Regions from separate parts of the Homo sapiens genome. Here regions 1 and 3 are each linked to region 2. Evidence: promoter capture Hi-C in 16 types of primary human blood cells and fetal thymus (Javierre and others, 2016). All regions are on one chromosome and are shown on one strand. The core of a region is centred on a gene start or on the middle of the fragment in contact, and the rest is flanking DNA. Distances in the headings are between cores, read along the strand shown.

What was found. The method cuts DNA at HindIII sites, captures the fragments that hold promoters and counts their contacts. A CHiCAGO score of 5 or more calls a contact.
Region 1: a fragment that was not itself captured here is called in contact with the fragment with the promoter of PGGT1B in region 2 in 1 of 17 cell types (non-activated CD4 T cells); the score reaches 5.1 in non-activated CD4 T cells.
Region 3: a fragment that was not itself captured here is called in contact with the fragment with the promoter of PGGT1B in region 2 in 5 of 17 cell types (non-activated CD4 T cells, monocytes, naive CD8 T cells and 2 more); the score reaches 5.4 in non-activated CD4 T cells.

Annotation. Positions count from the first base shown.
Region 1 is chr5:116,095,665-116,099,181 of GRCh38, forward strand. All of the region lies in intron 4 of COMMD10 (COMM domain containing 10), which reads left to right. Among named protein-coding and RNA genes, the nearest start is that of COMMD10, 12 kb to the left of the region's middle. The HindIII fragment of the contact is 263 bases long and covers 1,192-1,454 here.
Region 2 is chr5:115,261,401-115,265,070 of GRCh38, forward strand. It overlaps PGGT1B (protein geranylgeranyltransferase type I subunit beta), which reads right to left and starts at 1,477. Exons shown (of 9, transcript NM_005023.4): 1 at 1,312-1,477. The coding sequence starts at 1,451. It also overlaps the pseudogene RPS2P26. RefSeq lists enhancers at 1,336-1,515, 1,546-1,595. The HindIII fragment of the contact is 10,345 bases long and covers 1-3,670 here.
Region 3 is chr5:116,071,325-116,075,289 of GRCh38, forward strand. No RefSeq gene overlaps it. Among named protein-coding and RNA genes, the nearest start is that of COMMD10, 12 kb to the right of the region's middle. The HindIII fragment of the contact is 6,657 bases long and covers 1-3,965 here.

The DNA.
Region 1 (3,517 bases), core at 73-2,572, 830 kb after region 2:
TGAACCTACTTCTGGTTTTCTAGGAATTTGCAGCCTAATCATGACATAAATATTTACTGTTTTCTTCTAAATGTTTTACATATTTATATTTTATGTTTAGATCTAAAATCCATTTACTGTTAATTTTGTATGATACATAAAGTGCAGGTCAAAGTTCATTTTTTCTATGTATGGATGTTCATTTGCTCCAATGTGATTTGTTGTTAAAATTATCATTTTGTCATTGAATTACCATGTGTTTGTCTAAAATCATTTGATATTTTTGTGAGTCTTTTTCTGGAATCTCTCTTTGATTTCATTGACTTATTTGTCTATGCCAATATCACACTGCCTTAATTATTATAGCTTAATAGTAAGTGTTAAAATCAGGTATTGTGAACCCACTGACTTTTTTCTTCTTTTTTATAATTGTTTTGGCAATCCTAGTTTCTTTGCCTTTTCATATGTTTGAAAATCAGCTTTTGTATTTCTGTAAAAAATCCTGCTTGGGGTATTGATTGGGGTTGTGTTTAATTTGTAAATAACTTTATTGAGAAATGACTCCTTAATAAGTATTGAGTATATCTATTTATTTAGGTCTTCTTTGATTTCTTTTATCAGTGTCTTTTGTTTTCAGCTTATCAATCCTGCCCTTATTTTGTTAGGTTTGTACCTTAAGTACTTTTTCTTTCTTTTTTTTTTTGTTGTTGAACTATTGGTAGTATTTTTCAAATTTTGTTTTCCAATGGCTTATTGATAGTATATGGAAATACAGTAGACTTTTCTATACTGATCTCTATCCTGTAACTTGGTAAATTCACTAATTAGTTTTAGCAGCTTTCTTATAGGTTTTTTGTGATTTCCTTTGAAGGCAGTCACGTTGTCTGTGAATAAAGACAGTTTTATTTCTTCCTTTTCAATCTGTAGAGCTTTTATTTTTCTTGCTTTATTTTACTGACAAGGACTTCCAACGTGATGCTGAATAGGAGTGGTAAGTCTGAATATCCTTGCCTTGTTCCCAATTTTAGGGTGAAAGCATTCAGGCTCTTATCATTAAGTAGGATGTTAGAAAATGCCCCTTTATTGTTTTCACTTCTCTACTTCCCTTTTTAAAAATTCTGTATTCTTACTACTCTCAAGTGTCTTCTATGTCATTGCTTCATTTTTTATCATTTTAAAGTCTACTTTTTCCTATATCCTCTATAGATTTTAAGCTTTCCATTTGTTTCCCTGCAATTCTTTTTTTAAGCCATTTTCATTTTTAAAAAAAATTCTTGGCTTTTTAATAGTAGCCTGTTTTCTGTTTATATTTTTCCTATATTTTATACAGTCCGTTTTTTTCCTTGCACTTTAGTAGTCATAACAATTAAAAATATTTTTGTTTTCTGCTTCTAATAGTAAATTACTTTTTAGTGTCTTCATGATGAAAGTTTGTTTTTTTAAAGGTAATATTTTTCCCATAGTTGGATTACAGAAGCTTCTCTTTAAGAAATTAATTAATCATTTGTCATATAAAATATGCAAATAAAGAAGTTGGAATGATCTGATTAATTGTACATTGTCCCATTGAGAATGCTGGAAATTATCTTTTGGTAATTCTGGGTATATCATAGGATTGCTAATATACTATTTTAAAGTCTGAAATGCTTAAATAATATAATGATAACAAGCATTTATTGTGCTTATTGTGGGTCAGATGTTATAATGAGTTCTTTGTATGTTACAAAACCCATTAATAGTTCTAGTTTATACATGTACTTATAAAATTGAGGCTTAGAGAGGTTTAAAAAGTTGCCCATGATTGTACAGCTAAGTAAGTGGCTGAGTTGGGATTTGACAAGAATAGTCACATTCCTAAGCTATTATGCTATCCTAACACATAGATGTTAGCTGCGGAATTTTTCTGCGTCAGGCATTATGCAGGGTGATTTATATAGTTGTTTGTATGTACTTCATATTAGTCCATTCTCACATTGCTATAAATAACCTGAAATAGGGTAATTATATAAAGAAAAGAGGTGTAATTTGCCCACGGTTCTGCAGGCTGTACGGGAAGCATGATGTGCTGGCATCTGCTTGGCTTCTGGGGAGGCCTCAGGAAACTTACAGTCATGGTGGAAGGTGAATGGGGAGCAGGTGTCTTTCATGGCAGGAGCAGGAACAAGAGAGAGAGGGAGGAGGGAGGGGCTACATACTTTTGAACAAGCAGGTCTTGCGAGAACTCAACTATCACAAGAATAGCACTGAAGGGATGGTGCTAAAGCATTCATGAGAAGCCTGCCCCCATGATCCAGTCACCTCCCACCGGGCCCACCTCCAACACTGGAGATTACAATTGCACATGAGATTTGTTGTGGTCACAGATCCAAACCATGTCACATACCTTTTAAAAGTGAGGAAATAAAACTTTAGAAAATATTAGTCACTTTATCATATTATCCCAAGTGGTCCATGATGAAACTGAAATGAGGATTGGATCTGTCTGTCTCTAAGTCTTATTCCTTTTATATCATGCTACCTCTGGCAGCTGTAATGCTATCTTTCTTTTTCATTCTGAGAACTGTTTAGGATACTGTGGCCAAAATAGCCAGATGTGAAAACAGATCATGCCATTTAAATTGTAACAAAAATATATTACACTGACTTATATGATGAAAAAAGGTGTACATGCAATGACTTTAACTGTTTTATGGTAACTTAGGGTCCTACCCACATAAACTGTGGGGTGCTTGCAGCAGAACACATGTTGGTAGTACAGTCAGCCCTCTGTATCCCTGGATTTCGTATTCATGGATTAAACTCGCAGCAGATCAAGAATATTTGGGAAACAAAAAATTCCAAAAAGTGAAACTTGAATTTGCCATGTGCTGAGTACTATGTTAAATCCACAGAAATGATGTGTTGTCATTGTATTAGTTATTATAAATAATCTAGAGATGATTTAAAGTATAAAGGAGGATATGTGTAGATTATATTTAAATACTGTGTCATTTTATATGAGGGACTTGAGTATCTGCAGTTTTGGGTGTCTGTAGGGGGTCCTGGAACCAGCCCTCGCTAGATACTGAGGAAAGACTGTGATTCTGAATTCAAAGAGGGTAAGATCAATGAAATAATGTTAAAAAATCAAAAGGTGTTTATTTTTATTCCATTTTAAAAACTTCTTTTTTAAGCTTTATCGAGGTATAATTGATAAACAAAAATTATGCGTATTCAGGGTGTGCAATGTGATGATTTGATAGCTGTATACATTGTGTAATGATTACCATAATCAAATTAATCAACATATCTGTCACCACACAGTTACCACCTTTTATGTGTGGGTGAGTGTGTGCGTGAGGACATTTAAGATCTACTGTCTTTGAAAACTTAAAGTAAACAACGTGGTATTATTAACTATAGTCACCATGCCATACATTAGATTCCCAGAACTTAATTTGTTTTATAGCTAAAAGTTGTACCCTCTGACCAGCATCTCCTCATTTCCCTCATACCCCATCCCCAGGCAACTACCATTCTACTCTCTGCTTCAGTGAGT
Region 2 (3,670 bases), core at 227-2,726:
CCTAGTGCAATGTTGACCAAAAGGACTAAGCTGTTGCAAATGTTGAAATAGAAACAATTGCCACTGGCCAATATGGCAACTGGGTACTTGAAATGTGGTGGCTACTACCAAAAGAATCACTTAATTTTTAATTTGATTTAATTAATTCAAATCAAAATAGCCAAATGTGGCTAGTGGCTACCAGATTGGACAGGGCAGCCCAGTCCTAAGTATAGAGGTAAACAAGATAGACGAAAATGTTACCTTTGTGAAGTTTATAATCCAGTGTAATAGAAAGACATTAAACAAATAAACCAATACATACGTAATGTGAGGTGGTCATTGGAAGTGGTCCCTTTAGGAAGGGTGTTTAAGGAAGGCCTCTCTAAAGATATCTGGATTATGTACATGCCTGTCTATATACTCCTATGAACACTACACTAACATATAGCACAGAACTCTATACAAATGCTTGTCTTGTTCAGCTGTACTCTGGCACCTACCATAATGTGGTTCTTGACCAAGTGTGCAGAAGTAATCTGCAAAGCTCCCCAAACTGATCCGGTCATGCAGTGTTCAAAATACACCAGCAACTCAGAATTTGGAAAACGTGGGGAAAGAACACAGCAAAAACAAGCCGCTCTTTCCTCCCATCCAGTCTCAAGCAGCTTTTGAGCTTCACTTCAAAACACAGCAATGCGGAGCAAAGATTGCCTTCTCCTTTCTTTCTTCTCATCCCCAGCTTTTACTGTAAATGAAGTCGCTTAGTCTCTGCCGCACCACACTCTTCAGCTATTGCGATACTTTTAACAGGCTGCTTCACGCAACACCACACCTCTTTCGCCTACCATTAGATTTATAGTTCCCACAAAGTTTCTAAGACCTTAGAGGTTCTCTGCCGCTCCTACACATAAAACACCATACAGACACTCTATTAAGAGTTAATGACTTTAGAGAGGACAAGGATGCACAGAAGTATTCATCTAAAAATACGACGACAAACTTTGTCCTTTTCCTTTTACACTCGGAAGTAATGAGGCAAAGTGACAGGCTATGGGAGCGGGTAAAAAAGCAGCTCAGAGTTGCCAGAAGAAAAGGGAAGTGAAAAAGCCGGAAACTGGAGATGCCACAGCCCTCGACCTACAGCCTTCCAGACCTTCCCACCGTACGGCGGGAGAGTGGGGGTAACCTCAAGCCCACTTGAAACCAGTCAGTGCCAACTGGGCGGCCGCGCAGCCCCCTTCCGGCGCCCAGTTTGCGGTCCGACTCCGCCGCGCCTTTCCGCTGGAGCCCGGGCCTTGTGCCAGCCTGGCTGACTGTGCCACGAGTTACCTGCTTGTCTCGAGTGAAGAATAGCGCTCCGGCAAAACCTGGAGGCAGCGCTGGAAAAATCGCACGTGCCGATCCCGTAAGAAATCCAGCCGCTCTCCCTCACCGCTCCCTGCTAGCCTCTCATCCTCAGTGGCCGCCATGCTGCTCCGGAAGCGACGTCCGCCGCGACCCGGAATCAGTGCCCGCGGAGAGAAAGAACCCTCCTGTGCTGAACCACAGGGTGCCGGGTGAGGGGACCTGCGCCCGCCGCAGACTAAGCCAGTATTTGAAACCGCTATCATCTGGGTCCTGTGCAGCACTTCCTCTCTCCGATATCTCCCTAGCTAGCGCATGACCCTACCTTTTCTACTCAAAGCCCTCGAGGCTTGTAAACACCTCGCAGGCCTTGTGAAAATCAAGTCCACAAATCCCTCCGTCAGAATTTTTATCTTGGGAAGCGCAAGGTCAAAAGCATCAAGTACGCTTTGAGACAATTCTGGCTCTGTAGAACCTGAGGATGGTATATCTGAAAACGAGGATGGATCAGTATAAACTTGCTAACAGATTCATTTTTGGAGGGCCAGTTTTAAGCCGAACGGTTAGGGAAACAGAAAAACAAACCAGTGGAGATAAATGTTTATTGACACTACAAAAGCTCAGAGACTTTCCTAATCTTAATCCTTTCTGGATACCAGGAATCACTTAAAAATCTGTGTATAATGCCCCCAAACATATACAACATGCATATTCATACCTATATATGACTGCTTGCGTCATTCTTTTACAAATCTTACAGATTTTACTTTGCTTGAGTCGACGTGTTATCAAGAATCAATGGTGCATCAATCTGCAACAGCAAAATAAGCTCAATATCTTCTCCAATTACCTGCATTCTAAAAAATTTAAACATGCTTCTAGTTCTTTTTTCCAAAAATAGGGATTTAAGTTGTTTAGCCGGTATACTATGCCCTTTAAACTTTCATGAGGCATTCCTGAGTAGCGGGTGGGGGGATCCACCCAATAATATAACTAAACTAGGTTCCCTGTGATCAACTTAGCTAATAAAATTTTGGGTTTAATTTTGTTAGCTTTCTTAGAAAATGTAATTCTTATACTCTATGGGCTGGGGTAATCTTACACTTATTCAACAATCCAAAGTGCTCTGAATAATTTTTGGTACTATTAACTACTTATTCACAGGTATTCCTGCATGTCTTTACAAAATGCCGCATTTAACAGCCACAGACGGATTCTAGGCTGTCCTCGGTACTTCCCTACAAATACGGAGCTCACAGTCCTTGCCCTTCAGGTGTGCCCAGTCTGGAGTTTCCACTGTTATTAAAATTAAGATCTCTCACTTAGCACACATACCCCCAAATGCCTGAAGATTTTTAAAGTGGAGTCTTATACACATTTAACTTACTGGAATCAGCTATGGACACTCTATACATTCTCAGAAAATTAATTCTAATAAACATGGCCCTTAAGTTAGGGAAGCCAAATGTTTCATCTGATTCTCAGCTCAAGGACTAGCAATCTGATCCAAATCTAGAGGAAAAATTTGCAATGTGGGACTCATTCAGAGATAATACAGAATGCCTCCTAGGTCGGTAAAAGGCTTTCCATGAGTGATTTTATCCCTACAAGATTTTTGGCATGTGCATAACAGAATGGGAATGATAGAACATCTATATAATTGAGTGTTATTTAGCCATTACATGATAATGTTTGAATTAGGTAGAAATGTACGAAAATGTGTAATGCAATTATAGCATAGTAATTAATATGTACTGTATGACTGTAACAATTTAAAAATATGTAGGTATGTTTTTTGAAAAAGTTACCCTGGAATTATGGGTACTTTATAACATTTCTTCTTTAGTGTTTTTTCTATGTTTCTTATTAATGTAGTTTTTTTGTTTCCAGGCTTACTTCATTTTATTTTTCTTGTACAACCCGATGTTGTAGCCACCGCTGGAGCCTGGGTCCTCTGCACGGAGACTCTGGTGTGGGTCTTGAGGAGGTGGTCAGTGAATTCCTGATAGGGAGACTTGGTGAATACAGTCTCCTTCCAGAGGTCAGGGTTCAGCCTGCTGTAGACCTTAGAGATGGCATAAAAAATGACCATGACGAAGTTGCCCAGGATGGCAGTGCAGCCCCTGGCTGAGGTGTAGCAGTCATTGATAGCTGCCATCAGCAGCAGCTTCTTGGCCATGGGGGCCGAGACGATGCCAGTGCTCCTGGGCGCAGGGATGACCCGCGCCAGCACAGAGCCGTGGCAGCCTGTCACCTTGCAAGGGATGGTGTGGGGCTTGCCGATCTTGTTCCCCCAGTAGCCTCTGCGCATGGGCACAACGGAGAGCTTGGCCAGGATGATGGC
Region 3 (3,965 bases), core at 564-3,063, 810 kb after region 2:
GAAAATACCACATTACATTTAGTCATCGTGTCTCTTTAGGCTCTTCTGGACTGTGATAGTTTCTTGGGCTTTTCTTGTTTTTGATGACCTTGACAGTTTTGAGGAGTCCTAGTCAAGTATTTTGTAGAATGTCCCCTTGGAATTTGTCTGACATTTTTCTCATAATGAAACCAGAGTTATGGGTTTCTGGAAGAAGACACAAAGACCAATTGCCATTTTCATGACACCATACCAAGAGTACTTACTAGCAACATGATTCATCACTGATAATGTTGGCCTTGATCATCTGGTTGAGGTGGTGTTTGTCAGGATTCTTCACTGTAAAGTGACTCTACCCCTACCACCCTTACAAACTGCACTCTTTGGAAAGAAGTCACTATGTGTAGCCTATAATTAAGGAGTAGAGAGTTATGCTTCCCTCTCTTCAGGGATGGGTATTTATATAAATTATTTGTAATTTTACGCAGGAAATTTTGTCTTCTCTCCCTTCTATTTACTCAATAATTATTCAATTATTTAAATAATGGAATAATTTATTAAATTATTTGTTTAGATCAGTATGGACTTGTGGATATTCATTTTATCATTTGGTTTTAAGCTATTAGGAGTTTTTTTCAGTTGCGTTCTATGGTCCTTTAACATATCTGAATCATTGTGAGTTTTAAAATTTTATTTTAAATTTTTAGCACTTCCTTACTCCCTGCACTACAAGGTGTCCCAGGCTCATTTTGTACTTACTGCCCCAGTCCTAGAATCAGCCATTTCTCCAACAAGTCCAGGTTCTTTTTATTGGAGAATATTAGAAACCAAGATTAGGGCACTAGGTGTGATTGAGTTAATAGGCTTTCACACTAAAGTTAAACCTCAAATCAAATGTTCCACAATTATATATTTACCAAGTTGACCTTGATGAACAAATTCTGCCATACAAAAATAAGGAAAAGTCATGAAGGAATCAAAAAAAATTTTATACACACATTTGAAACACAGTATTTTACCATTAGTTTGTCGAAACATGAAAGTATTGTGAAGCGTCTTGAATTCTGGAAAGACAGCTATGAAAATACAGTATTTCAACTCATTTTTCAAGATCTCAATAAAACTTACTAACTTCAAAGTAGAATAAATCAAGGAATCAAATAAAGTTATGTGTTTAGGGAAACACTATTTCTCTTTGAATGTAGTGTTCACAGATTTCTGCATCCTTAGACATACCATTTAACTAAATTGGCTGTCCAACCAAGAGCTTAAATCTTCACTGTAAAAGGGTTTGAAATAGTTTTATTTTATCTATCCCAGGCACCCATATGATACTGGGTATGATGAGGTCTCTAAAGAAGTCTAAGGATGGATCTATGCCTTTACAACAGTTGGCTAATGAAGAAAGGCAATCATATAGAATTCCTTGCTAAAATGTTTGCTTCATATAAGAAACCCTCTCAAAGTCCAGAGAAGAAGGTGAGTAGGTGGTGTACATTTTAGAAAGTGTGAACTGAGTTGGATCTTGAAGTCTTGAAGGTTTGGTTTCTCCACACAGATGCTATTGGCACCTTGGGTGGATAATTCATCATTGTGTGAGACTGTGATTCCTGCTATGTATCAGTAACATTTGTAAGGCATTGGAACAACTCAAATACCTCTACATATTCCCTTCTGGAGATGTAGGAACTGTGGGGAGAGTATATTACAAAGAAGAGACTACAAAACTAGACACAACTGAGAATGGGCATGGCATGCTGGAACAATGAGGAGACTGGGTAGAGTCATTCAAATAATCTGTATTTACCTATGGCTCTAAGGGGCAGATTGGAACCTCTCGAGCTCTTTGGCTTGTTAGAAGCACCACTTTGTCTTTAGCAATGCCACGCCGACTCTGATCCTGAAGGAAAGTAACTGTACCCATCTTGTTAATTTACTAATCTAAGCAAACTGTAAAGAAAAAACTTTTTAAAATCTTGTGTAAATAAAAAATAGGCAGTTACTCTGAAGAGATATATTTGCCTTTTTCCCAAATGCAATAATATTAATAATTTACTTTAGACCTTTCATTTAACACACAAAAATCTTAAGTATATTTTGATAATAATAAATTAATATTATTTACAAATTACCATAAGAATGATGTTAATGTTAGGTCCCACAAAGAATTTTTCTTGGCATGTAAAATATGTTAGTACCTAATATAAAATATCCTGGGCACATAACTAATTATCTTGGTCTTCATGATCTTTTGAATAGTAACTGATGGTAAAAATAATTAATTCTCATCATTGGAAGTTCAAGTAATACAGAGAAGGTAAAAACTTACAGAAAATCTCACCAGCCTGAAATAATTGTGGACATTAACCAAACCTAATTTTAGTAATCACTGTATGCATATTTATATCTAGATCTCAATCTATATGCTATATATCTAATATATGTGATACAGATATATAGAAATGATTTTATTAAAGTGGAAAAGAGAAGAAAAAAAACTATAGAAATTGCTGTATATTAAAGAGTTGTTTCCTTAACAAAGAGATGTTTGTCCCTAAAATATTCCTCTAAGATGGGGGTCACAAACTTAAATGCCTTTAGGCATAGGGACTTTATGACTCATGCAGCAAACTATAAAAATTAAGTTGCTTCTATTGTTTTCAAAATAAGAATCTCTCTGGTTACATTGTCTATGTCATCACTGAGTAGGTTAAACAAAATAAGCAAGCACAGTATTTCTATAGCCCATGAGCCATATTCAGACTAGAGTTCTCTAGAGTGCCACCTCTGCAAAGTTTTAAAGAGATTATGGAAACATTTGGGGCCTGGCATGGTGGCTCATGCCTGTAATCCCAGCACTTTGGGAGGCTGAGGCGGGCAGATCAAGAGGTCAGGAGATTGAGACCATCCTGGATAACATAGTGAAACCACATCTCTACTAAAAATACAAAAAATTAGCCAGGCGTGGTGGCAGGCACCTGTAGTCCCAGCTACTCAGGAGGCTGAGGCAGGAGAATGGCATGAACCCAGGAGGCGGAGCTTGCAGTGGGTGACAGAGTGAGACTCCAACTCAAAAAAAAAAAAAAAGATTATGGAAACATTTTAAGATGTTATAATCAATTTATTTTTTAAATAATGTATTTCATTTTAATTTTTTAAATTTTGTTGGGACATAGTAGGTATAGATATTTATGGGGCACTGTTGTATTTCTTTAAGAGAATGTTTGATTCATAGCATTTGCTTTGAAAGATAAAGAAATAAGTACTCTTAAAACTTTATTCCACCCAATTTTGTCCATTTAAAAATCAGTTGTCTAAGCTATATGATGATTCTATATTATCAAACATTATAACATTTCTACTTAATTTCATAAATTAACTAAATTTTAGTTTTATATGGATTTAATGTTCACTACATGCCACCGCATCTCTGCTACTGAGTTCTGTATTTTCATTAATCTCTTGGTTGGCTTGTTCTCAACTATTAGTTTTAACAAAAAGAGCCCATGAAAACTATGAATGCAGCCACGCTTAGTAAGATCTGACTTTTGCTTTAATATTGAATAGCATGTTCGCTTTTCTCGACCCTTTGTAGACATTGCTATGAAGAAGTCTGAAAGTTGTTGATTATTTTACTCTTGTAAGTGACATGCTTTTTTCACCATGTCGCTTGAATAAATTTTTCTTTATCCTTGGAATTTGATAATTTTACCAGAATCTGTCCCATAATCATCATATTCTATCAGTTTTTCCAAAAAATAATTTGCTCTTTCATTAGACTGTATATTCAGTTTTTCTGACATTACAGAGAAATGGTCTTCTATTAAATATTTGTTTTGATCATCCTACAGAGGCAAAATGGACTTTGTACACCAAGTTTGGTTAGGTGTTGATATGGTTTGGCTGTGTCCCCACCCACGTCTCACCTTGAATTGTAGCTCCCATAATTCCCTCATGTTGTGGGAGGGACTCACTGGGAGATAATT